Linked DNA regions of Homo sapiens: all the other regions are linked to region 3. Evidence: promoter capture Hi-C in 16 types of primary human blood cells and fetal thymus (Javierre and others, 2016). All regions are on one chromosome and are shown on one strand. The core of a region is centred on a gene start or on the middle of the fragment in contact, and the rest is flanking DNA. Distances in the headings are between cores, read along the strand shown.

Evidence for each region. The method cuts DNA at HindIII sites, captures the fragments that hold promoters and counts their contacts. A CHiCAGO score of 5 or more calls a contact.
Region 1: a contact is called between a fragment that was not itself captured here and the fragment with the promoter of VWA8 in region 3, in 3 of 17 cell types (megakaryocytes, M1 macrophages and erythroblasts). The highest score is 5.9, in megakaryocytes.
Region 2: a fragment that was not itself captured here is called in contact with the fragment with the promoter of VWA8 in region 3 in 1 of 17 cell types (M0 macrophages); the score reaches 5.8 in M0 macrophages.
Region 4: a fragment that was not itself captured here is called in contact with the fragment with the promoter of VWA8 in region 3 in 3 of 17 cell types (M1 macrophages, M0 macrophages and M2 macrophages); the score reaches 9.8 in M1 macrophages.
Region 5: a contact is called between a fragment that was not itself captured here and the fragment with the promoter of VWA8 in region 3, in 6 of 17 cell types (total B cells, total CD4 T cells, naive B cells and 3 more). The highest score is 13.9, in total B cells.
Region 6: a contact is called between the fragment with the promoter of KBTBD7 here and the fragment with the promoter of VWA8 in region 3, in 7 of 17 cell types (non-activated CD4 T cells, total CD4 T cells, monocytes and 4 more). The highest score is 11.4, in non-activated CD4 T cells.

Annotation. Positions count from the first base shown.
Region 1 is chr13:41,363,373-41,368,058 of GRCh38, forward strand. It overlaps NAA16 (N-alpha-acetyltransferase 16, NatA auxiliary subunit), which reads left to right. Exons shown (of 20, transcript NM_024561.5): 14 at 4,067-4,280. Among named protein-coding and RNA genes, the nearest start is that of NAA16, 54 kb to the left of the region's middle. The HindIII fragment of the contact is 2,313 bases long and covers 716-3,028 here.
Region 2 is chr13:41,408,659-41,412,875 of GRCh38, forward strand. No RefSeq gene overlaps it. Among named protein-coding and RNA genes, the nearest start is that of RGCC, 47 kb to the right of the region's middle. The HindIII fragment of the contact is 7,503 bases long and covers 1-4,217 here.
Region 3 is chr13:41,959,550-41,963,859 of GRCh38, forward strand. VWA8 (von Willebrand factor A domain containing 8) reads right to left here and starts at 1,560. Exons shown (of 45, transcript NM_015058.2): 1 at 1,304-1,560. The coding sequence starts at 1,466. VWA8-AS1 (VWA8 antisense RNA 1) reads left to right here and starts at 1,620. Exons shown (of 4, transcript NR_039974.1): 1 at 1,620-2,685. RefSeq lists enhancers at 1-293, 294-794, 890-1,029 and a silencer at 1,230-1,639. The HindIII fragment of the contact is 5,183 bases long and covers 1-2,072 here.
Region 4 is chr13:41,382,099-41,386,712 of GRCh38, forward strand. It overlaps the pseudogene TUBBP2. Among named protein-coding and RNA genes, the nearest start is that of NAA16, 73 kb to the left of the region's middle. The HindIII fragment of the contact is 1,837 bases long and covers 1,401-3,237 here.
Region 5 is chr13:41,257,835-41,262,281 of GRCh38, forward strand. MTRF1 (mitochondrial translation release factor 1) reads right to left here. Exons shown (of 10, transcript NM_004294.4): 2 at 2,659-3,081. The coding sequence starts at 3,073. Among named protein-coding and RNA genes, the nearest start is that of MTRF1, 3.5 kb to the right of the region's middle. The HindIII fragment of the contact is 258 bases long and covers 1,907-2,164 here.
Region 6 is chr13:41,192,946-41,197,496 of GRCh38, forward strand. KBTBD7 (kelch repeat and BTB domain containing 7) reads right to left here and starts at 1,624. Exons shown (of 1, transcript NM_032138.7): 1 at 1-1,624. The coding sequence starts at 1,312. All of the region lies in intron 3 of KBTBD6-DT (KBTBD6 divergent transcript), which reads left to right. RefSeq lists enhancers at 366-1,073, 1,074-1,780, 1,125-1,394, 1,705-1,794. The HindIII fragment of the contact is 3,616 bases long and covers 750-4,365 here.

The DNA of each region.
Region 1 (4,686 bases), core at 622-3,121, 600 kb before region 3:
CAGCAAGACCATAACTAGAAACTTACCAAATTTTCTGTTTAAATGAAATTTGAATATCCTAAGGATCATTATAGTTCTGAACTTCTTGAACTTAAATTCCATTTCTTCTAACATTGATGACTATATTGCTTTGTTTTTTAAAATTTTGAGAATTTTTAGAATATGATAAGTGGATCTTCCATTACTGAGTTTCATTTAGATTATACTTTCCCTTAAATTTTTAGTGATTTTGGCTGAGTTGCATGGAAAAAAATTCTGTAATGTCAGAAAATCTACTGACATAGTTCAAGAAATTAATTGGTAAAAAGCATTTTTGAAGAAAGAAACTACAGGAAAATCATTGGTTGTCACAGATTAAAATGGCAGAAATCATCACCCTCTGGTCATGTTACATAATTATTATCGCTAGAAACTTTAGGGTTTACTATTAACATTTGAGATTAGAAAGAAGTAGAAACATAAACAAGAAAAGAACCTACTCTTATACCAGTTGTAAGCTAGTCTTCAGTGAATATATCTATACTAAAAGCAAATAAGACAACTCTTTTATAGTTATTATGTATATTCTACATGTGTGGTTATATGTAGAAATGTGTTTCGTATAAATAGGGTGACTAGGTTGATGGAATGATTAATGCTTCTTAATTTTTAATATCTAAATTTTCTAATCTAAAATTCTTAATGATATCATTGGAAGGATTTAGGAGTAATTACAAGCTTCAGATTTATTATAATAGGTATCTACATGAGTTACCTTATGCCTGTGTCTTAAATATTTTAATAAGGACACGGACACCTCTCAGAAATAAAACTTTGCAGTTTACCTTCTAAATAGAAGGTTAGTGAATTGCGAAATAAGTTCAAATAAGGGTTAGGTCTTTATTCTGCTTTGAAGAAGTCATTCAAGAGTTCTTTTGTTGAAGGCAGTTTCAGTCAGGATACATACTGCTTTGAGCTCTTAGTAATTGGATTTGAAAAATTAGAATTCTAGAATAAGCTAGTGTAGTATCTTTTCTGTTTTCATCCCCCCCCCATAAGATTTTAGGGTTTATATTTTAAGGTTTTGTAGTCCAACCCAATCTGATGTTTGAAACTTGACTTTTATTAAAACAAACAGAACAACCTTCTTCAAAATATTAGATTTAAACTTGTGTTCAGAATAACATTTTAATCTATTTTATCTTTCAAGAATTGAGTTTTCTTTCTTTCCATTTTTTTCTTTTACTATTAGACTGCTGGTGATTGGATTATCATTATTTTAGAATACTGACTTAGATATGAAACAGGGCAACGATACATATATTTCTAACTCTTTGATAAGACCTAGGACTTCTGATAGATACAAACTATAGGAAGATCATAACTTTATCTTCTATTGTATCTTAATCTTTATCAAATTGATAACATGCTTTATAACAACAGATTCTCTATTAAGTAAATTGAGTTGCTAATTTTCCTAGTTGACCTAGTTATTATTTTTTAAATCCAGAGGTTTTTGTTGCCTTTCTCTGTATAAGCTCTTACTAGTCACATCCGGGAACTCTGAGAGGTAGTGGGAAGGAGAATCTGGTCTAGAAGAGAGGGCCTAATAAGGAGTTCCTTAAAAAAATAAAAACACTACACTCTAAAGCTGTGAACGGCTTTTCTTAATTCTTGCTTAGGGGGAGAGAGTTAAGGGCATGAGCTGTATGTTAAGATTTGAATACGTACTTTTCTGCAGTGAGCTAAGTGATTTTTGTCATGCTCTTCATGTTTGGCCAAAAGGTACAGGGAAACTAACTTTATCTGTTGGTGTTGTGTAGCATATTTTTGTGTTTTACAAATTTAGAGACTAAAAAATCAACCCAAGGGGGAGCTTCTTGGTGATGGAGTAGTTCTGTGTTTCTTAGGGTAGTGGTTACATGAATCTACAAATGATAAATCACATAGAACTATATACACATTGTACCAATGTCAGTTTCTTGGTTTTGATACTGTATTGTAGTTATGTAGGCTGTAACCTTCGGGGGAAACTGAGGGAAGGGTATACAGGACCTTTGCTACTTCCTCTGTATCTATAACCCAAAACAAAAAGTTAAAAAAAAATTCAACCCGAGATTATTTAGTTGTTTCTATATAGTATTCTGCAATACACTGTTTTTTCCAAAAGCAAATATTACAATCAGCTGTAGCTGCAGTATCCCACTTGTTTTTAATTTAGCCATATTCTGTCTATCACCATTAGTTTATTATGGAGTGATTAACAAGCCAGGTTTGCTTGAGGCTGAGTGGGTTCGCAAGACACAGTGCTTTCAGTGGAAAAACTGAGAGAGCCTCTGGCAAACTAGGATAAGTTGGTCACCCAATTTATGGAAGACATTAACTGGAGAGAGGCAGCCTATGGGCTGTTACTGATAAAGAGGTGGCTTAAATATTTGTGGTTACATATGGCCCCCTCCAAGACTTGACTTAAAATCTCTGTCTATTAATGCTGCTAGGAATATCTCTTGAAGTTTGTCATCTGCCTTTTTTCAGATGTTTCTCAACCTAAAAGAATGTCCTGTAATCTCTTAGATGTTTTCATCTGATTATGTGTTCCAGGACTTTTAGCGCCACCATTTTTCCTTAGTTAACTGTATTGAATTTTTAAAATATTCTTGTGCTAGTTATAACTTGATTTACATTAAGAGAAACCACTAACAACTTTATGAAATATGTAATCCTTTGATTTAAAAAAAAAGTTCATGTTAATATTTACGATTTGATTTTATTGGTGGGAAAGATGCAGTTTTCAATTACAACATCATTAAAGCATGGCTTTTTAGTCATAAACTAATGTGAAATGTTCACTTTTCCTGTTTCTTACCCTCCATACTATGTACTTTTATTATAATTTTTGTCTTAAAGTCTCAGGTACTTAATATAATTCTGTATATAGTGTGTTTCTAATTACCAAGCAATTATCAGATGATTATGGACAATTACTAATATGTCCTCTGCGGAGTGACTTAACTATCCCCAGGACAGAGGGAACATGAACTAGTAGGAAAGCTTGATCTATATTGGTGTATTGAATCACTCATTTTTCTATATGATTTTAGAAAAACTAACGTATGAAAAAAGAAGTTGGAGATGGAAATGCATGCAGGGGAACAGTATAAGTATAAGATTGTTTTGTTGGGGGAGGGGCAGAGGGTTAGTGTTCACCTTTCATGGAAGGGATTAGTTCTTAACCTCTTTTGGCCATGGATCCATTGAAAATTGGATGAAAGCTTTGAGCTCTCTCCTTAGGAAGAAGTTTTTATGCTTGTTTATACATAGACTCCAGTTTCAGAACTTCTGCTAAAATGGAATGTAGGTAGAGTAAGAGAAAACAATAAAGTTCTGTATTTATATAACAGTTTACTGTTGAAAATGAACTTTAAAATACATTATTTGATCCTTTAACAACCTTAAGAAATTGGCTGTATGGATTTCTTTATTCTTAACTTAGATTAAATAATTGTCTAGGAAATTAAAAGGCTTATTCAGGGTCGCATCCCTAATAAGAAGCTTATCTCTTGAGTGGGCAAATACTGTGCTTACTGAATGTCTGCTATGTATTAGGCCCTGTGGCAGGCGGTGGGTAAGGATTGCCCTTGAAAATGGTAGAGTTGAGTAGAGCAGTCAGATTTGTAAATATTTAGTGTGAACCTACACATATTTAGTCTTCATTCAGAGCTCTGTTTAACTGTGCCATGCTGGTTTTTAGGGAATATGGAGGAAGAGTATTTCATTAAAACTAAAATATTAATATATACTAACTTTCAGGTTTAAAAAATAACCTGATCTTTTGACTTATATAGAAGTTGAGTATCATCACAAAACATGATTTGTAGGGAATGGGCATGGTTTGTAGGAAGAGAAAGTTCAAGTTGAATGCCAAAAATAATTCATATCCTTTATAGTGTAAAACATTGGAGAGGGCAGCTAAGTGAAAATTGTGACTGTTTAAATTGTTTTTTGGGCTTTTTACAATTTTTTTTTTCTAAAGGTAGACATTATTGACATAAATGTAAAGGTTAATTTTGTGATTTTTGTTTTTAAGCATTTTTTTGAGATAACTGATGACCAATTCGACTTCCATACATACTGCATGAGAAAGATGACCCTTCGTGCCTATGTTGACCTTTTGAGATTAGAAGATATACTCAGAAGACATGCCTTTTATTTCAAGGCTGCTAGATCAGCGATTGAAATATACTTGAAATTGTATGATAATCCCTTAACCAATGAAAGCAAACAACAAGAAATAAACTCAGGTAACTGAATAGGAACTTAAAAGATTTTAAAAGGACACTAAATTTCAGAATGCCATTAGCGTAAACAATACCTAGAAAAATATTAATATATTGTCTGTTGGAGTTGAAGACAAACATTAGATAACTCATATGCCAAAAAACAAAAATGTTGCAGAGAGAGTTAAAAAAAGTGGGATGATATTCTGTAGCTGATGGTTCTAAATTACTTTAATGGAACAACTTAGAATTTTTTTTATTTTTGTCTTCAGAAAGACCAATTTAAGAACTGGGTATGGTGGTTCACGCCTGTAATCACAGCATTTTGGGAGGCCAAGGCAGGCAGATCATTTGAGGCCAGGAGTTCAAGACCAGTCTGGGCAACATAGCATGACCCCTGTCGCTACAAAAATTTTAAAAAGACGAGTTT
Region 2 (4,217 bases), core at 329-2,828, 550 kb before region 3:
ACTCATTCAGTTCAATTAGGATACTTTATACTCATTCAATTCCATTAGGATACCAGTTCTCAAAATGTGGACCCTGGATCAGCAGCTGCAGCTTCACCTGGGAACATGTTAGAAATGCAGATTCCTGGGCCCCACTCCAGACCCACAGAATCAGAAACCGGTAGTGGACCCAGCCATGTGTATGTTTTAACCCCTCCAGGGGATTCTGACACTCTCTCAGGTTTGAGAATCACTGATTTCCACTGCATATAAAGATGATGATACTTAAATTGTCATTACATGGCAGATGGAGCCTACCCCAAGTTGCTGTACTCCAGACATTTTCAAAAAACATCTTTGCTTTCTGGAAACAATAGGATATTCCAGTTTCAAAATAATCTTTTTTCCTTCTCTAAGACATTCAATCAGCTGCTACTCTCCAAGGAGTCTTTTTTCCTTTTAGTGAAATTAGAGAACAAATTCCTGGTGCTAGTGATGCTCACATGTATTAGGGATGATCCAAAGAACAGCTGCTGATGTTGGGCCACATTTAATGAGAGCTTAAAGGTTCTGTACTCACACGGACCTCCCCCCTGCATTTAACATAAGTTACCATATTCAACTTTACTTATGGTAGATTTTATTGAATGCTAAGATTTTCTACTACCTTGACAACATAGAGCTTAATATTTCATTGTTTCTTTTTCATGCAAAGTTACCCAAACTCTAAACGTTTAAGAAGTTAGTAAGTTAACTATGTTTCCTTCTCAAAAAGTCATCTTTCTGAAGAGCAAATCAAGAGGATAAACAGCTCATTCAGGAAGCCATGAGGCTAGCTGTAGAATGAGTGGGTTCCTCTCCCCCACTCTAAGCGTGACAGGATGGGGTCATGAGGAGTGCTGCTTCCACAGCCCTGGGACCCCCTGTAGCTGGTCTGTTTCTTATTGAAAACATGATCATTACGCTATTCATATTTCATTGTAATTAGTGTGATCATCTTGAAGTTTTCTCTACCAGAAGAATCTGGAAAAAGATGCTACCTAGCAAGGAATATTGCATTCTTCTACTTCTCCCCACTCACACGATGCTGGCAGTGTGTCAGCCTAGTTTATGTGTGTGTTCATTTAATCATTTCTACCCCATGAGCACCTGTGTTAGAACACAGGGAAGAGTAAAGTAATCACACTGGAATGTACAAAACAGGGCTGTGGGATAGTAGAAGATGGAGACTCCACTGCCTGGTCCTTACAAAGTCATGATTTACTGCTCCATTCCCAGCCTCAACTCCAAACCAAAGCAGATGTTCATCTAAAATAAGCTGTGGGTAGAGCAGATGGGCAGTGTGGAGGTGGGAGCAGACGAGGACAAATAAGGGCCAGGTGAGAATTTGGCCCATTCTGAAGAATTTCAGATTTCTGTATATAATTTTTTTTTTCCTGACAGTGGTGAAAATAATCTCTTGCATTAATAGTCTGTGTCTCACATGTCCGTGTGAAGAGACCACCAAACAGGCTTTGTGTGAGCAACATGGCTGCTTATTTCACCTGGGTGTAGTCAGGCTGAGTCCAAAAAGAGAGTCAGCAAAGGGTGGTGGGATTCTCATTAGTTCTTACAGGTTTTGGAATAGGCGGTGGAGTTAAGAGCAATGTTTTGGGGGCAGGGGGTGGATCTCACAAAGTACATTCTCAAGGGTGGAGAGAATCACAAAGAACCTTCTTAAGGGTAGTGGAGATGGGTGGGGGAGATTACAAAGTACACTGATCAGTTAGGGTGGGGCAGAAACAAATCACAATGGTGGAATGTCATCAGTTAAGGCTATTTTCACTTCTTTTGTGGGTCTTCAGTTGCTTCAGGTCATGTGCATGTATACTTGCAGGTCACTGGGGATATGATGGTTTAGCTTGGGCTCAGAGGCCTGACAGTCTGTTAGCTTTATTGTATTCTAATAGTGTTGGACTATGCATTGGAGCTAGGTGGTCTTTATCTGAGAAAGTTTAATTAACACCATTTATAAAATAACCAAGCACACAAATGAACCATCCTCATTGGTGCGAGGAAGAAATTCGCATTTGCTTTCCACTTAGTCTTACAAAGTCTATCTCCACATTTAGGAGTGTCAGAGACATTAGTACAGAGAAATGCTACTGGAAATGTGGAGAGAAAGAGGAATGTGTAACTTCAGAAGGGAGAGACAGAGTCAAATTTGCCCAAAAAATGATTCCCTGGGTGATCTTCAGAGACTCAATTAACCTCTCTGCATCCGTGTCTTGGTTTACTAGGGGTGGCATAAATTTGCTCTTCCTTAACTCATGAACAACACAGCCCTAAATGTATGAGACAGATTTGTGTTTTTGGAAGACGATGTAAAAAGGCATATTGTATAGTTATTTTTATTTGTGAATACATTTGTAAATACATTTGTAAACGTTGATATTGTACATTTGTGACACACTGATAGTTAATAAAGGATTTTTGCATGTGGCTCTTATTTAAATGTTCCCCAAAGCTAAAGTCACCAGGTTGTTTTCTAATTTTATACGTGAGGAAGCCGAGGCTCAGAAAGGTTGCCCATCCTGGCACACAGCTAGTTTATGGGCCGGGCAAATATCAGAGTCCAGGTCTTCTGACCCTTAGTTCAGAGTGCTCTTACTAGGAACCAACTGCACCTTTACTGTTGCTAATTAGAGAAATGTGTGTGGTGATCATTCACTCATTCATCCGTTCAACAAATGTAAATTAAATACTTACCAAGTGGCAGGCACCAGGGTACAAAAACACCAGTGACACAGATCACAATTTGCCAAACTGGTTTGGGTTGCAAAGGGAGTGCTAGCTTATTTCTAACATTTGAAATACTTTTTTTTTTCCTCTGTCACATTAGGACTAAAAAGGTTTAAGTCCTATTCTCCTTCTTCCCATTGATTATGGGTGTGGCTGAACCACTCAGAAATTCATCACCGGTAACCAAGTGAGTTCAATGGTCTTTGAATGGGTTGCAGGCTGTGGGTGTGGTGTGGTGGGGTGGGGGCAGCATTGCTGGACAGAGCAGAGAGGGCAGGGTAGACCTTGGGCCCGGGGAGTGGATCCTGAGGACACCACTTGTCTTTTTGATTCCCAGATGGTGGCAGCAGAGAATTGTAAAACCCAGCTGTGGGGAAACTCCTGTTTTGAGGCTGTTCAAGAAGTGCTGTGGTTGTTTTGGCTTAAAATCACATTAAAGTGCTTTTCTTAGGCTGGGCGTGGTGGCTCACGCCTATAATCCCAGCACTTTGGGAAGCCGAGGTCAGGAGTTTGAGATACCTGAGTTACCTGAGGTCAGGAGTTTGAGACAAGTCTGGTGAACATGGTGAAACCCCATCTCTACTAAAAATACAAAAAAATTAGCTGGGCATGGTGGCACATGCCTGTAGTCCCAGCTACTTGGGAGGCTGAGGCAGAAGAATCGCTTGAACCCCGGAGGCAGAGGTTGCAGTGAGCCGAGATCACACCACTGCACTTCAGCCTGGGTGCGATAGAGTGAGACTCCATCTAAAAAAAATAATAATAAAGTGCTTTTATTTCTCTAAGCGTTAAGAAGTCGACCAGCCTTTCCACTCTTAAGTATTTACCCAGGAGCAAACAATAGCATCTGCCTGTCCTTGTATTTGTAATAGCTCAAAGTCGAAACAGCCCAAATGTCCATCAGCAGGTGAGTAGATAAACAAATTGTGATATATTCATTCAATGGAATATTATTCTGCAATAAAAAAGGAGTGAACTGTTGATATATACAGCAACATGGAGAAATCTCAAACACTAATTATAGAAAGAGTACATACTGCATGATTCCATTTATATAAAATTCTAAAAATTGCAAATCAATCCATAGTGACAGAGAATGGCTCATCGGTTGCCTGGGAATGGGGAGGGGAAAGGAAAGAGTGAGAAGGGATTAGAGTGGGGAGTTGGTTATGTTCACTACCTTGTGAATGTACCCAATTATGTTTGTTGTAGTCAGTTATATTCACAGAAATCTATAAAAAAAATTACAGATATTTTTCATTCTCTAAAAAGTCCCATCTTCTCAGCCATGTTAGGCTTTCTTTAAGGAGGGCTCTTACCTCTGGAACATTCTGCTTACATTTGTCCCTCATTTATTATAAATCACTGGTGGTCCCTGCTAGGAAGCAGGCAGTTAGCAGGAGTTAGGGAGGCAGTGTGGGAGGAAGGTCACTTGGGGTCATGGAAAGAGGTCAACT
Region 3 (4,310 bases), core at 310-2,809:
ACGGGGGTGGTGTATGTCTTCAATGAATAAAACGAAATACGTGGGACCTAAATATGCTTTTTTTTTTTTTTTTTTTGAGATGGAGTCTTGCTCTGTCGCCCAGGCCGGAGTGCAGTGGCTCCGGTCACTCCAAGCTCCGCCTCCCGGGTTCACGCCATTCTTCTGCCTCAGCCTCCGGAGTAGCTGGGATTACTGGCGCCCGCCACCACGCCCGGCTAATTTTTCTGTATTTTCTTTTTAGTAGACACGGGGGTTTCACCGTGTTAGCCAGGATGGTCTCGATCTCCTGACCCCGTGATCCGCCCGCCTCAGCCTCCCAAAGTGCTGGGATTACAGGCGTGAGCCACCGCGCCCGGCCCATATGCTCATTTCTTAGCAAGGAAAACTGGGGGTTGCGGGGAAAATGCAAGAGGACAACGAAACCTACAATTTCATAGTGAAAACCTGTTATTCCAAGCAGCACTGACATTGACAAAATCTTGTCTGGAATCACTTCACCATTCAAGGGTAGCAACAACAGATATCCTTTCCTTAACCATCACAGTAACTCTAACTCCACCAACACACAAGAAAAAGAATTCCTAAAACCAGCTCAAGTAGAGCCAAAAAATACTGAGCTTAGAAATCAAAGCATGTGATTCTAGCATAGTAATTAGTTGTGTGTTCTCCAGCGAATCACTTTTCCCTTCTGGGTTTCAATTACCTCATTTGTAGAGGCAAGTGTTTTAACTAAATTAAGGTGTAACTGTCAGCTCTAAGAATTACGTGAAACTTTAAGGAAAACTCCTGTAAAACTTGGAAAGGCTCGGGGATGCATTTAAAACACCGTGAACTATGGGTTCTTTGGCAAGAATGTTCCCTTCTAAGCCGCCACAAGCCCTGGCTAGAACATGACACAGACCGGCTTCCAGGCCCTTGAGGCTCAGAGAGCAAGGTCAAATCCAGCTTTCAATAATTCCATAGGGCTGAGGCATTAACCTCTACGAGTATTATAACCTAAGTCAGAATTCTGGGGGTAAAGGCAGCGGCAGGGGAAGGAGAAATCACTCTTCTAGGTCATCAGAAACCTTAGTCCAGACCCCTCGGGTTGCAGAATCAGGCACAGAGAGGGCGAGCGCCTTGCCCCCACGTTACACAGCAGTTAGCGCCGAGGTCGGGACTAGAACCTCAATCTTTCAGCTCCCCGCTCGGCAAACGGTCCTTCCAAGCGCAGCGAAGCAACAGAGAGGAGGGGCGGGGGCGCGCGGGGACCCGGCACGGAGCGCAGGGGCACCAGGGAGGACAGGGGCGCACCCCGAGTTACCTGTGTCGGCCCCCGAGCCGGCGTGCAACAGTCTGACCTCCGGCCGCTGCCTGTCGCCACCCGGCCTGCGCTGCACCACCTGCCGCAGGAGCAGCCGCATGCGCCGCGAGGCCGGGCCGCCGTGGCCTCCGGGTGCCCCGAGGAGTAGAAGCCGGGATTGCATGGCGCCGGGGGGGCTGTCGGGGACGGCGAGGGGGCTCGGGGATCGAGCGGCGTCCCGTGCAGGCACCGTGAGGCAGCGCGGAGAAGGGGACAGGAAGCGGCACCTAGCCGAGTCCGCCGGAAACTCCTTCCCCCGCGGCGCGGCCGGCTCAGTAGACTCAGCCCGGCCCTACCCGGCCCTGCATGGCCCAGACGGGCGGAAAGAGCCTGCGGAGCTCCAGCCCAAAGAGCCGGCACCGTCCCGGGACTGCCCGCACCGCGGGGGTGCTCCGAGCTGCGGCGCTGGGCTCTGGCAAGCGCCTCGCAGTCCGTGAGACTGTCTGTTCACCTGGATGCACCAGGCCTTCACCCGCCGTTTCCCTGCGATCCCACAGAATCTCAGGAGTTCAGTAAATGCCAAGGGTTTTAGGAGCATTTGTCGGTGTGACTCTTCAGATGCTTGCCCCAAGTCTTCGTTTCTTAGTTAAAGGCCCAGTAAGTATAGGGAGCTTTCCCTGTATTCGGCTTCAGATTTCGGAAATGGAGAAAACATGCACAAGATGATGGGAACTTTCACAACTGTCTTGATTCATTGTAACCACACTAGTGTTTCCAAACCGTACGTGAAAGCTTTACCCTTTGTCCTTTTGGTGGTGGTTGTTTGTTTCTGTGTTTTATTACCGCTTCCTAAATTCTAAGGAAAAAATTCACATCTTAGTGATAGATGGAAATTGCTTAAATATCAGAAAGGATCCAGATCAAGCACTTTTCTAGTCATGCTGTAATACAAAAGTTATATAAAGATGATTTATGTCTTTAGTAAAGGAAAAAGTAGGACACTGGCTAAGGCTGCCTCCCTCTTGTACATTCCAACATCGGAAATGGTCCTACCACAAAGCAAACTAAGCCTAATGTAATTAGACTGCATCCCCAAAATGTCACAGTGAATTGACTAAGGCAAAATATTTGAGACAAGTTATACAAGCAAACATCAAAAAGAAGGCAGAAGACCTCACTTTCAGCTAAAGACCTTGCTAATTCTAGAGCTGCCACTGTCTAAATACATAGCACCTACCCTGCGCCTGACCCTGTGATGAGTGCTGAGAAGAGAGTGTTAGAGTGGAGACTGTAAAAGTCAAACAAGGCTAGGTAAGGAAGGCTTTGGGCATCCAGCGGAAGAACTTGAGGAATGAAGGCTGAACCAGGCTTCTAACCTAGATGAGGAGACAGTGAAAATAAAGGTAATAAGTAGTTACACAATATATTATGACTTCGTTTCATGTGTATCTTCTCATTTAATCCTCATAGCAACCCTAAGACATAAATTTAGGATGTAAGCTTATAAAATGCTTTTCCTACTTTGAGCACATTGTATGTATCAAGATTTTAATGAATTATCCCATTTCACATAAAAATGCTTTGAGGTACTATTATTATCCTCCGTTTTACAGATGAAGAAACTGAGGCTAGAAGAATTGAATACCTTGGTCAAGATATCTCCATTTAATCTCGCTGGAACTCAGTAGACACCTGAAAGAATGGGAGAACAACCTAAGGCAATTTTGCAAAGTGGTTGATATAAGCACTAAGAGCTCTTGGAGTTAAGACAATGGAGAGATCAACACAAGTTAGAGCATTCAACAACATTTTTTGCCTAGTTTTATTTTTTTTAGAGACAAAGTCTCACTCTGTTGCCCAGGCTGGGGTGCAGCGGCAGTATTATAGCTCATTGCAACCTCGAACTCCTGGGCTCGAGTGATCCTCCTGCTTCAGCCTCCCTAGTAGCTGAGACTACAGGCGTGCACCACTGTGCCTGGCTAATTTTTGTGTTTTTGTTTTCGTAGCAGTGGAGTCTTGTTATGTTGCCCAGGCTGGTCTCAAGCTCCTGGCCTCAAGTGATCCTCCTGCCTCAGCCTCCCAACGACAACATTTATTGAGTAACTGCTGTATAAACAGTACCCTGCTAGATACTGTGAATCAATGGGCTCACATTAGGTATTGATGATAAATATGCAAATAAAGAATTGCAATACAGTGAGACACGTGTCAAGAGATTTAGGTTCAACATACTGTGGAGTGGATTGCTGCACCTGGAGTCTTCACAGAGAAGGTAGTGTTTGAAATGATTCATGTAGGATATATTATACAAGAGTTTGTCAGGCTGAGACAAGTCAAATCTGGCAGACAGATCATGTACAGAGAGAGAGAGAAAGAAACAGCTGAAAGTGCAGGGCATGATTGAGAACCAGAGAGTGATTCAGTGTGTCTAGAGGTCAAGTATATACAACAGTTTGTAAGAATAAGACCAGAAAGAGAATCTGGGGCCATGTTGTATGCCAAGAGAAGGAGTTTGCACATTAACCTCCAGGAAATGGAAAAATGGTGAAGGTTTTTTAGAGTGACAAAGCTACAATGGGGAGGAAAACTTTGAGCCTGAGAAAAGGCAGCACCTGAGCTTAACTTTGAATGCCATTTAGGACTGGATACACAGAGAAGCGGGGTATAGAGCCTAAGTAGAGGCTTGGAGTCCTGACAGAGTTCAGTTACAGGGGCCATGAGACCAGCCAGATGAGGAGGTTAATCTTTCGAAAGTAGTAGAAGGTGTTGGCAGAGCAGGAGGAGAAGGTTACAGAGTGAAGAATCTTGAGTAGCTGGATGAAGTTGGACTTCATCCGATGAGCAAACTGGGCAGCTACTGGACTTTTTGATCGTGTTTTAGGTGGTGACATACTATGAATTGAATTAGGAAGACAGGAAGCATCAAGTGCTAGCTACGTGGCAGTAAAAATAGTCTCTACTTGAAATGATGAACAGTGCTGATGGCAATGAGACTGAATGGGAAAGAATGGACCTTCACAATGTTTTT
Region 4 (4,614 bases), core at 1,069-3,568, 580 kb before region 3:
CGGCCATATGATCAACCTACCCTGTAGCTTATTCAGGACTACTCCCCTATCCCTTATCCTCCACCCCCTACTCCTAATCCACCAGGGATCTGTAGGGACTCATACTTCTGGCAGACCTGTGACCATCTCTGAGTTCCACTCAAGGCGTAAGCGCTCTCTGGTTCTCTTTCCTCTCCCATCCTCTCATCCCCATCTGTTGTTTTCTCTTCCTTAGGTCAGCCCCTCTCTATACTCTTTCCTTGTGTTCTTTGCAATTTACCCTCTAAAAATATTCAACTGCATGGCTTTGCCAGATGCAAATTCTTAATCTTCCTTGTACTAAATCTACGTTTTCACAGTTCCATACATCTTCTTTCTCTGCCTTCACCATTTCCGCTTATCTTTTAATTTTAACTGAAAATCGTAACGGATCTCTATCCATTATGCAGCCCTTTCAAGTGGAGACTGTTTATTCTCTCACCATCTCCCTGGAAAGAGCATTCAGAGCATTTCACTCTCCACCATTTCTAGCCCATCACTCTTCCAACATTGTACAAACAAATCCATGCTCCTTTGAGGATAATGCTATTGGGCTGTACTCTTGACATCTCTTTGTTGCTGTCATTTATACACTTCTCTGACTCACAGACTTTCCCTTCTCTCCAATCGTGCTGAAATTCCAGGTGGTTTCAGCATCTATTTGGTGCACCCACTCAACACTCTGGCCTCTCAGTTTCTTGATCTCCCTGGTATCAATACTTTTCATCTCCATCTGTTTTAGTCTGTTTTCTGTTGCTGTAATGGAATACCACAGACTGGGTAATTGATAAGGAAATTATAACCTCACTTCCCATTTAAACAAAAAATAGAAGCCATCAGATACAAATTCTTAATCTTCCCTGTACTAAATCTATAAACTTATTTCTGATTGCAGAATTTTTTCCTCCTTTCATCTTGTCACATTTTTCTTCCCCAAAAGGGTAATTTTCCCTGTGTTCTGAATTTCTTTCCCTCAGGTCTTAGGGTACTTACTTGGCTTGATCACATCCTGTACCATTTGTCTCTGCCTCTCTACTGGTTTCTTTCCATGAGCATTTTAAGCATGTTCAGAAAGGGCATCGTTTTGCAGTTTGTTTTCAAATCTTGCAAGGACATATGTGGGCTAGCAGTTGCCTGCTATTTGGGTGCCCTGTGATGACCACTTATTTAGCTTGATTGTAAGTTCTGTAAGGTCTCCAACCATGTCTGTCTTGAGTATAAATCACAGAGCTCAGCGCAAAATAAATATTCATAAATGTCATTGATGAACACTCACAGTCACTAAGTATTTTCTCTGATCTCTGATTTGCCTTCACCACTGCCCTGTGAAAGAGGTCATATTATCATCCCCATTTTCCATGACAGTCAGCTGATAGGATGTAAGCTTCTCTCAGGGCCACAGTTTCTTAGTACAAAGCAGGATCCAAACCCACTCCTTCTAATTTTGAATTGAGTGTTCCTTCCTCTCTGTCAGATGCTCAGTAATCATGCCGTGTCTTACTCATTTTCCTGGCCTTGTGTGTGTTTAAAGTCTTGTTTCCTCGACAAGAGGTTCTCTTTTTTTTTTTTTTCAATTCCCATTTATTTTTGGCTCTTGGGGCGATGTCATCTTTTCAGTATGAAAAAAAGCAGCAAGTTCAACACAAAATAGAAATCTCAAATGTAGGATAGAACAAAACCAAGTGTGTGGGGGGGGGGAAGCAACAGCAAAAGGAAGAAATGAGATGTTGTGAAAAAGATGGAGGAGGGTTCCCCTCTCCTCTGAGGATTGACTCAAACACTGATGTGGCAGTATACACCATTCCACAGTCAGGGATGTTCCTTCTTTTTAGGGGGTAAGAAAAAGTGGGGATTAAGAGGACATTTCTGGAGGCTTAGGGACCAAGGCTGGACTCTTTCCCCCACTCCTTGATCCCTTTCTCTGATCAGGGGAAAGGAGCTCGAGTGAGGGAGGTAGAGTTGGAAAGGAAAGGATTCCACTTGACAGAGTGGGACAGACACCTCCAAAGAGTAGAGCTTAGAGGGAGATTGAAAGTGGAGATAATACTGCTGACACCTCTCTTGAAGCTGAGATGGGAAATGGACATACTTAGAAATTAGTGACTTTAATAGCCTGGATTTCCCTCTCCAAAACTTTTAGAATGGAAAATCCCATCCCCTTCCTTATATAGTGACTTCTACCCACTGCCTTCTACCATCTTCTACTTTGGGCTTAGGATGGTGGCCATTATCTACATGGGTTTTCAGCACCTGGTTGGTTCTAAATGGCATCTGGATGAGACCCAGCTTCTTGGAGATTTTTAAGAGAGAAATATTAACTGGACAGATGGAAGGAATGGGCACCAGAAGGAAATACAGGGTCACCCAGAATGGCAGAAACCTAGGTTTCCCAGAGTGGAAAGAGAGAGGAGACATTCAACAAACAAGTATTTATTGAGTGCCTACTATGTGCCAGGCACTGTTCTAGACCTCCCCAGAAGAAAAAACAAAAAACAAGATAGAGGCAGCAAACACAAATTCTGAGGGAGAGGAAAGGGGCAGTTGAGTAAGATGGCTAAGGGAACTGAAAAGCCTGAGGTGATGGGGGCTCTGTCATAGGCCTCGTCTTCGGCCTCCTCAACAAAATCCTCCTCCTCTTCTGCGGTGGCATCCTGGTACTCTGATACTCAGAGACGAGGTCGTTCACGTTGCTCTCAGCCTCGGTGAACTCCATCTAGTCCATGCCCTCGCCTGTGTACCAGTGGAGGAAGGCCTTCCTGCCGAACATGGCAGTGAACTGCTCCAAGATGCGCTTGAAGAGCTCCTGGATGGCCGAGCTATTGCCAATGAAGGTGACTGCCATCTTGAGGCCACGAGGTGGGATGTCACAGACAGCTGTCTTGACGTTGTTGGGGATCCATTCCACAAAGTAGCTGCTGTTCTTGTTCTGCACGTTAAGCATCTGCTCATCGACCTCCTTCATGGATATCCGACCATGGAAGACAGCAGCCACGGTGAGGTATCGGCCGTGGCGGGGGTCACAGGCAGCCATCATGTTCTCAAAAAGAGGTTCTCTAAAGGCAGGGTCCAGGCTAAGCTCACAGCAGGTACTCATATTCTTTCCTAGGCTTTTATTTATACTTTTTTTATTTTCCAGTTAACACTTGGTTAGCATATGGTAATTGTTTTTCTGAAACTTTGAAGTGCGTGGTTAGTTCATTATTTCTCCACTGGAGGGCAAGCTTTCCAACTCAAATTTTACTTTTCTGATTCCTTGAGAATGAAAAGAAGGACCGTATGTTGACCAGAGTTGTTGTTTTAATTGTCTCAGGGAAATGAGATTGTTGCTGTGTGTTGGAAGTGTCTGTATTTCCTCCTTGTATAATATATAGATTTCTGATCCAATACATCCTGATCATTGCCTTCTGCAGAGGTTAAAAATCCCAGATACAGCCTTTGCTATGTGTAAAGCCCATGACCTGGCCAATGTGTCTGAGTGCAGTTTTGTGTGGGAGAGGGCCCTGATACAAGAGCGGAAAGAATGGGGACTGGTCGCAGGCAAGTCACACCCTCCCTGGCCCCTTATTCCTCGCCTGTAGCGTGAGGAGGGTTATCTAGGTAACAGCATCCCATGATTCTGGGCCCACAAACCAGAAGGCTCTGAGAGTCAAAGACTGTGTCAGACCCATTTTGATTACCCCACAAGTCCCCACCCTGCCACAGTTCACTGAGCCCTCAAGACAGAACAATCCTGTGACCAGATGTGCAGCTCTTTTCCACACATGAACCAATTCTCCAACACCAGCTGAGTGTCCTACAATTCAACTGAATCCTGACACTGTTTACCTGAAGTCAGCATCCGACCCCGCAGGTGAAGGGCTCAGTCCCACAAGACCATCCCCTCTTCAGATGCAGATCGCAAGTCCAGGCCTCTGCTCCTTCTGACCGACCAGCTATAAATCACGGCTTCCCATGACTCCTTCTTTGGGTTCCATCATTTGCTTGAATGGCTTACAGAACTCAGGGAAATAGTTATATTTCCCATTTATCATAAAGGATATTACAAAAGACACAGATGAAGAGATGCACAGAGTGAATTGTGTGGGAAGGGGCATGAGTTTCCCTGTCATCTCCGGGTGCCTCGCTCAACACTTCCAAGTGTTCAGCAACCTGAGAGCTCTCCAAACCCTGTCATTTTAGGTTTTTATGGAGGCTTCTTTACTAGGCATGATTGATCACATCCTTGGCATTAGTGATTAACTCAACCTTCAGTCCTCCCAGATCCCTGGAGGTGGAGGCTGGCTGAAAGTTCCACCCCTCTAATCATGTGGCTGGTAACCAGCGTTCCCCGCCCACCAGATGTCTCATTAGCATAAAGAAGACATTGACACAACACTTTAGAGATTTCAAGAGTTTTGGGAACTGTGTGCCAGGAAACGGAACAAAGAACGACTATTTATATTTCACAAAATCACAATCTCCAAGAGTTATGCCTGAGCAGCCATCTCCTAATTGAAGGAGTAGGATGACCAATCATGGTTCTGTGCACCGTTTAGTCAACTCAGCCCTCATCCTGGGCTGCTGTGTTTAGACAATGGGAGTTTTGAATATGGGACA
Region 5 (4,447 bases), core at 786-3,285, 700 kb before region 3:
TATCCTACCTCATAAGGTTACCTGAGCATTCAAATGAGATAATATTTGTAAAGCACTGAGCTTAGTGCCTAGCACATAAGAGGACTTTGTAAATGTAGCTATTATTACTATTATTATAGAAAAATTGTAGAGGTAGTAGAGCCTTTAGAAATGATGTAATCCAATCTAATATTATACATGATACAACCAAGGCTGAAAGAAGTTATGCCAATTTAATTAGAATGCATTTCATAAACTTCTACTATACACAAGCAACCTTCTCAAAACTAATTAACTACAAATCTGTGTGGCATTATGCAAAAGAGTAAAAAATATCTCCATTAAACGTACGTAAGAGACTTGTGGTACCATCAATAGAAGGCAGAAAAATGGAAGGCTTCAAAAATCCAGGACTTTACAGGTATAACAGTGACTGGCCTGTGTATCACATAATACTGCTAAGGCTAAATGAAACAAAATGAAGCACAGAAGAAAATCTAGAAACTAAAAGTTAATAGCCAAATCTGGATAAATGTTGAATCATAGGTTAGTTCATTAAACTTTTCTCTCAACTTCTGTATAAAAATTTTCGAAAATTTTCATAAGAGAAAAAATGTAGAGGCAATAGCAGTATTGAGAAATACTAAAATAAAAAACTAAGATAAAAAATAGCCGGTAGTCCCAGCTACTCAGAAGGCTGAGGCAGGAGGATTGTTTGAGCCCCGGAGTTTGAGTGAGGGACCATCTCTTAAAAAAAAAAACAAAAAAAAAAAACATAAAAAATAAATACACCATATACAAAAATAACTAAAATAGATCAAAGACCTAAATGCATGGGATAAAAATAAAAAATACGTCAGTCTTGTAAGAAAACACAGATGTAAACCTTTGTGCCCTTAGATTAGGCAATTTTCTTAGATACGACTCCCAAAACTCAAGCAACAAGAGAAAAAAAGATAAATTGGACATCATCAAAATTTAAAAATATCATGCTTCAAAAGACAGTATCAAAAAAGTGAAGAGAAAACCACAGAATGGGAAATTTTTGCAAATCATATATCTGATCATGGACTTTTACCTAGAAGATAAAGACCACTCACAACTCAATAATGAAAAGACAATTAAATTTAAAAACTGGCAAAGGATCTGAACAGTGATTTCTCCCAAGATGATACACAAATGGCCAAATAAGCACCAGAAAAGATGCTCAACATCATTAATCTTCAGGAAAATGCAAATCAAAACCACAATAACACACCACTTCACATTCATAGGATGGCAATAATTGAAAGGGCGGATAATAAGTGTTGGCAAGTACGTGGAGAAATATGAACCCTCATACACTGTGTGTAGAGCTGTAAAATCGTTATAGTCACTTTGGAAAACAGTCTAGCACTTCCTCAAAAGGTTAAACATAGAGTTACCACATGAACCAGCAATCTATGTCCACAAAACAACTTGTACACAAAAGTTCACAGTATCGTTATTTATAATAACCAAAAAGTGGAAACAACTCAATGTTCATCAACTGATGAATGGATAAATAAAATGTGGTATATCCATACAATGGAATATAATTCAGTAATGAAAAGAAATAAAGTACTGGCTGGGCATGGTGGCTCATGCCTGTAATCCCAGCACATTGGGAGGCCAAGGTGGGTGGATCACTTGAGATCAGGAGTTTGAGACCAGCCTGGCCAACATGGTGAAACCCCGTCTCTACTGAAATACAAAAAAAATTAGCTGGGCATGGTGGCAGGGGCCTGTAGTCCCAGCTACTTGGGAGGCTGAGGCAGGAGAATGGCGTGAACCCGGGAGGCGGAGCTTGCAGTGAGCCGAGATCCCGCCACTGCACTCCAGCCTGGGCGACAGAGCGAGACTCCGTCTCAAAAAAAAAAAAAAAAAAAACATAAAAATAAAAAATAAAAGCTTCCTTCCTGGTTCCACTAATGCGCAGTCCCCTCCAGGAAGATTTACCCAATCAATCCAGGCTGGTTTGAGTGCCCTCTCCTCTTTGCTCCCATGAAACTGTGCCTCCCTCTAGTAGAGCAGGTCTCACATTATAAACAATACTTAAATAAGTTTCTCTCACTGGACCATAGAAGCCCACTGATGGGGTAGGAACTGTATGTGTAGCCCTAGTATGTAGGTACAGTGTTCAATAAAGGTCTGCTCAATAAAATAAAGCTTCTGAAAAGACCAACATTTTGTCTCCCAGACCTTGAGACCACGGGAAGTACCACGAGGAGCCTGTTTACTTAGTACATTGATCTTTAGTAGCTAAAGTGTGTCAAATACTCTGGGTACAGAGTCCTGTTCTTTCCAAGTGTTGAGCTTATTACTTGTAGGTTTTTTTAAAAGACTGAGTTCAGGCCAGCCTCAGTGGCTCGGTGGCTATAATCATATCGCTTTGGAAAGCCCTGGCACAATAGTCCTAGCTACTCAGGATGCTGAAGTGGGGGGCCAGGACTTACAGGTTACAGTGAGCTACGATTGAGTCACTGCACTCCTGCCTGGGCAACAAGTGAGAACCTGCTTCTGTGGGAAAAAAAAAACAAAGACTAAGTTCAATAAAGCTTTAACTTAGAAAATCAAATCTGTACTTACACACACGCATATAAGTGTGTGGTTTTTTTTTTCATAGCCCTTATGCAGGACACATAAGTATCTTTTACCTACTTTTACACATTGATTCTAATTCTTCAATTGCTTGTTCAGTCTCCTGAATTTCTTGGTAAATGGCTGCAAGAGGTGCCAACTCAGCATGCCTTCTGTTCAAGGACCTTCGGTTTTCCTCATTCACAGGGATATGCTGCAGACATTGCTCAAGTGTTTGGTACTCCTTACTCAGGTTCTCCATATATTTCTGTAGTGCTTTATGCTTCCAGAGCATCTTGGTGTCTTGATGGCAATATCTCCTGGACCAATTCTTACTTAACAGATGAAGAATGCAATTCCTGTTTTGTCTAAAAACTTGCAGCCTTGTATCAAGATGTATCTGTCTAAATTGATGAGAATGGAGCTGGATGTGACACTGGAGGTAACCATTAAGAGATGGATGTCTAAAAAGCCAAACACACAGGTGACGATTCATCTCAGCATCTGAAATACAATAAACACAGTCTTTAAAAAAAAATCATCTCTAAAGATACATGCATAATAAACCTGGAAGGAACATCAAGAAATCTTGTTTCATCTACTGCCTCAGCCAGCTCCACAGTCTTAAAATTCAACTGCCGGCTGGCAGCAGTGGCTCACGCCAGTAATCCCAGCACTTTGGGAGGCTGAGGCAGGCGGATCACCTGAGGGCAGGAGTTCGAGACCAGCCCAGCCAACATAGTGAAACACTGTCTCTACTAAAAATACAAAAATTATCCGGGCGTGGTGGCAGGCGCCTGTAATCCCAGCTACTCAGGAGTCTGAGGCAGGAGAATTGCCTGAACCCAGGAGGCAGAGGTTGCAGTGAGCCGAGATCATGCCATTGCACTCCAGCAAGGGGGACAATACCAAGACTTCGTCTCAAAAAAAAAAAAAATTCAGCTGCCTACAGAAAGAACATAATTCTTCAAATGTATGAATAACATATTAAAATAAATAAAAACAGCACTGCTTCCTACCTGTTCAACATATATAATTAACTGAAGCATATGAGTAGGAGTACAACTAACAAATATATCAATTGAATGAGTTAAGTCAGTTATTTTCTAGAAAGTATCTAGAATCTAGAATTGAGTGTGTAAACAAGCTCTTGAAAGCTATGAAAACATACAAACTTAAGGCGGTTCATAAAGTCATTTTCTAAAGTTTGAAGAAAATATTATTATCTTGTATAATTCTTTAACTTTAAGGATCTAGATATCCAAGGAAGTCAAGTAACTTAATCACGACTATTCAGTCGGCTGGATGGAGACAGAGCTGGTATTAGAATGTAAGTTGCCTGTTCAGGACTCAGTAATTTTCACTCTCAATTGTGCAATCACTTTTCAAAAATGCTTCCCGTTTAGCTGAGATCCTAAAGGAAGAAAAGTTCAAGTATTAATAGACCAAGAAAGTAGGGCTGGTGAAAAGCTCTACAGTTATATTAAATGGTGACAATTATATTAAGCAAGAAAGGCAAGGAACAAAATAGAATCTCAATTACATTTAAAAAATATTCTACAATATAAGGTATACATGTAAAAAAAAAAAAGCACATAGAGTATTTTTTAAAAAGAAAGTTAAATAAGAAACATACCAAAATGTGCCGAGCACAGTGGCTCACGCCTGTAATCCTACCACTTTGGGAGGCCGAGGCGGGCAGATCATCTGAGGTCAGGAGTTCGAGACCAGCCTGGCCAACATGGGAAAACCCCATCTCTACTAAAAATACCAAAAAAATTAGCTGAGCGTGATGGCACACACCTGTAGTCCTAGCTGCTCGGGAAGCTGAGGCAGGATAATCGCTTGAACCTGGGAGGCGAAGGTTGCA
Region 6 (4,551 bases), core at 374-2,873, 770 kb before region 3:
AGATGTAGCCATTGAGATATGCCACATCCATGCCCTCACGACACAGCAAGCGATCTGCAAGTTGCTGCCAACTATTCTGAGCTGGTTTATACACCCAGAGGTCTTTCCTGGGCTGAGCAGCTAGATAGATGTCATGGTCTGGGGACACACAGACAGCTGAGGAGGTGACAGTCTTAGTGTGAGCAAAGCTGGTCAAAGGGGATGGCATTGTGTAAATGTCCCCCGAGTAAGGGTCATAGCAGAGAAAGGGATCTCTAGGATGTCCAAAGAAGATCACCATCTCCTTGGCACACATACCCAGTCTCTGGGGTGGATTTTCTGCTGCAGATACAAGAGAGTTGCTGCTGCTACTGCTGCTGCTGCTGTTTGGCACTGGCACCAGAGACTTGTACAACAGGTCACCATAGCGCATCTGCAGGGCCCCTTCAATAACGTCCAGGCAGTACTTCTTCACGATGGGCTTGGTCAGCAGCCCTTCTAAGTAGTCCTGATCTTCTTCAGTGAAGTGCATCCAGCGCACGCACTTGAAGACTTCTGCAGCACTGGGACCCCGCTCTTTGGCAGCAGCCTCCAGCCACTGCACAGCTACATGGCATACAGTCCGCTCACTCTCTATGTCCAGACTATCCAGGCGTAGGACAGCCAGCAGCTGGGCCAGGGTTAGATCTGCTAGAGTCTCCTCCCGAATTGAACCCATTCGGCTGAGCTGCTTGAAGTTGTGAGCTATGTAGGACTGGGCCTGAGATCGAAGCTTGTGATGGTCGAAGGCGTCTGCAAACTTGAGGATGGCGGTGCAGTTGGTCAGGTCAAGACGTCGGGCTAAGAAGGAGGCACAGGCTTCCCGCACATATTCCAGCTGTAGCATGTCGGAGGCCGCGTACAGGCGCTGCACATTGGCCTCACTGAGAGACACACGACCCGTGTAGCAGTAGTCGACCAACACCTCGAAGGACTCGGCGTCCACATCGTGCATGGTCACGCTGGCCTGCTGGCTCTCGTACATGCCACCTGTGAACATGCTCTTGAAGTAGGGACACGCAGCTGCTAGCACGTTGCGATTGCAGGAAAAGAGGCGACCCGTGCCAGGCCCGCTGCCAGGCGTCACCACCTCGATGGTCACATCACACAGCAGCCGCGCGTCGTAGAAGGACTTGAGCTGTGCCAGCAGGGCTGCAGAATGGGCCGTGTCCTTTAACTCCTCTGGACCCGTGAAAAAGGCCGAAACCGAGGGCTTGGAAATCCTCTTGGGCCGCCTCCCACCACGGGGACTGGCGAGGCGGCGAGAGCGCGGGACGTCTTCCCGGGACTGCATGGTGGAGATGGCGACGGGCGCTGACGGCGAGAAAGGCTGCAGGACCAGGCTCTGGCTCCTCCTCAACCTTCCCTCGCTGACGCTAAGACAAGCCGCGTCCTGGAACAGACTGCGGCACGGGCCGCACTTCTGAATTCAGCCCTATCCCGCGGTGAGGCCTCCCTTTATTGCATAGACAGTGGCTGACTCACCCTCTCTCACTCCCGCGCCCTTTCTCCGCCTCCGCTCGCCCTCACAGGACCCGCTGGCTTGCAGCCGCGGAAGCCCCCACTGCCGCGCTGGCGATCCCGCTAGGCGCCCGGGAGAACTACTGCTCCCAGGTTGCCTTTCGCGCCCCGAGGCCTGCTGGGGCTCTCGGACGGCCGGGCGGGGACAGAGGGAAAGAAACCGCTTTGCATGTTGGGAGTAGTAGTTTGTGTAATATCGCGAGCTGTCCTTTAGTTGACTGCTCTAACAGTAGAAATTAATTCTCCTGGATTTGATGGTGAAGAGACTGTTGCCCAGGCTGGTCTTGAACTCCTGAGGGCTCAAATTATCCTCCTGCCTCGGCCTCTCAATGTGCTGGGATTACAGGCGTGAGCCACCGCCCCCTGCCAGTATTTCATAGGGTTTTGTGTGGTTCAATGATACCTTACATGGGATACTTAGATACATGTATGTTTTTGGTTAGAAGAATAGTAAAGCGTTACCCCGTGCCTAGAATGTAGCCAATAACTGTTAGATTCTCTTTTATAATTTATGATAAATGAGGCACCCACTAATTTGAAACCGAGTATTATTTTAAACCGCAAAATTTTACAAAGAATTTCTAGTTTTTAATGTTTATTCCTTCGAAAGATTTTGAAGGGCATTAACAATATTTTCAATATTAAATGATATCTATTGGTCTCGTTTAATAAGGATGTCTTAGACGACTAGGTTGAGGTCCTAAAGAACAGTATTAATAGATGGTCTCAAATACGCAAATCCAGCATATAAAAATAAATTATTTGCTGCTCTCACTAACATTTCATCTCTGGAGAGCAGGAGTATTTTCGTTAAGCTCCAAATATGAGTGTTTTCAAGTCGTCTAATACAGCCTCTTTCACTGCCGTTCCACAAATCAATTAACAGATTATGTAATTCCCTTTATTAAGGAGTTTTAGGGAGTATTTTAACTCAAAATATTTCAACAAACAGACTTTGTTCTGTACAAAAGCACATGATTCTCAGAATTCAACATCAGTACATGCCCTGACATTCCTTGAATTAATATATAGTATAGTCTATGCTTTACAAAGTCTTTTATATTTGCATTGGGATCAACAGTTAAATCATCAAAATCAAGTATTAGAGATTTGAGGCAGGAAAATAGGGTCTGGAGGCAGGGAACATAAGGCTGATTCACACTTTAGCTATAACAGGAAAGATCCTCTCCATAGGGTGTATGCTGAGTAAATGAGTTTGTAACTTTACTTCATTCTCTTCATTTACATAGGGTGTACACCAAGTAACCAGTGGAATCCTCTAGAGGGTATTTAAACCTTCAGAAATTCTGTAACAGGGCCCTTGAGCCCCTATGCTCAGGCCCGCTCCCCACTGTGGAGTGTACTTTCATTTTCAGTAAATCTCTGCTTTTGTTGTTTCATTGTTTCCTTGCTTTGTTTATGTGTTTTGTCCAATTTTTTGTCCAAAACGCCAAGAACCTGGACACCCTCCACCAGTAACAGACTTTTTCAGATAACTTTTATTACAAAACCATGACTGCTCCTGCTGCTAGTTTGTTATGTTACCATAACCTAATAAAGAAAATCATCAGTGTTACATGCATGTATGGATAACACATTACAAGAGAATAACTTTCAAATTGTTTTTCTCTTATCAGCTGAAGATAACTTCAACTTATCAGCTGAAGTCCACTGGAAATACTCTAGGGTAGACACATTAAATTAAGTCAGCCTCTGGGCTCTAATAACTCCTCTGTAAATAAAAAGAGATGTTAGATATCCCTCAGATACACCAGAGAGAATCAAGTCAGTCATTATCAGTAACAATGATTGTTTCCTGACTTGCAGTGAATACCAGCTGGGGAAAAAAGCCTTTTTTTTTTCTTTTTTTTTTTTTTTTTTGAGATGGGGTCTTGCCCTGTCACCCAGGTTGGAGTGCAGTGGCACCATAATAGCTCACTGCTGCCTCAAACTCCAGTGCTCAAGCAATACTTTGCCCTCAGCCTCCCAAGTAACTAGAGCTATAGATGCATACCACCACACCCAGTTAATTAAAAAAAAATTATAGACAGGGTCTCACTGTGTTGCCAGCCTGGTCTGGAAATCTTGGTGTCAAGCACTCTTCCTGCCTGAGCCTCTGAGTTGCTGCAATTACAGGCATGAGCCACATGCCCAGCGCAGGAATGGCCATTTTAAAAAACTTCTTAAAATATTGGTAAAATATACATAACACTAAATTTACCATTTAAACATTTTCAGTGTATAGTTCTTTAGCATTAAATATATTCACACGGTTTTGCCACTATCACAAAACTGAAGCTCTGTACCCATTTAAACAATAACTCTCTAGCCCCCACTTCTGGCAACTGCCATTCTACTCTTTGTCTCTATGACTTTTGACTACTCTAGGTACCTCATATAGGCAGTGACTGATTTTTACCTTCCTTATATCTGCTCTTACTGTGTTATTTGGTTTAGGTTACCTGTCACACAATTGAAGATATCTATTAGGCACTATTCCCTAAGATCTAGAGCTATGTGCTGTCCCATAAAACTTGGGAATATTTTATATTTGTGCTGGCTGATACAGTAGCCAGAAGCCACATGTAGCTCTTGGGTACGTGAAATGTGGCTAGTGCAACTGAGGAATTAAATTTAAAATTTTAGAAATACAGCATGATACCAATGCAATTCAATGAAGAAAGAAAATTCTTTTCAACAAATGTTATTGGAACAACTGGATCAAGAATGTAAGACAGAAAGTTGCCCTTGCCCCTACCTTACACCATAAGCAAAAAATTAATTCAAAATTTCTCCTAATACTAAATGGAAAAGTGGAAACTATAAAGCTTCAAAAAGAAAACATAGGGCCGGGTGCAGTGGCTCACACCTGTAATCCCAGCACTTTGGGAGGCTGAGGCAGGCGGATCATGAGGTCAGGAGATTGAGACCATCCTGGCTAACACGGTGAAACCCTGTCTCTACTAAAAATACAAAAAATTAGCTGGGCATGGTGGCAGACACCTGTAGGCC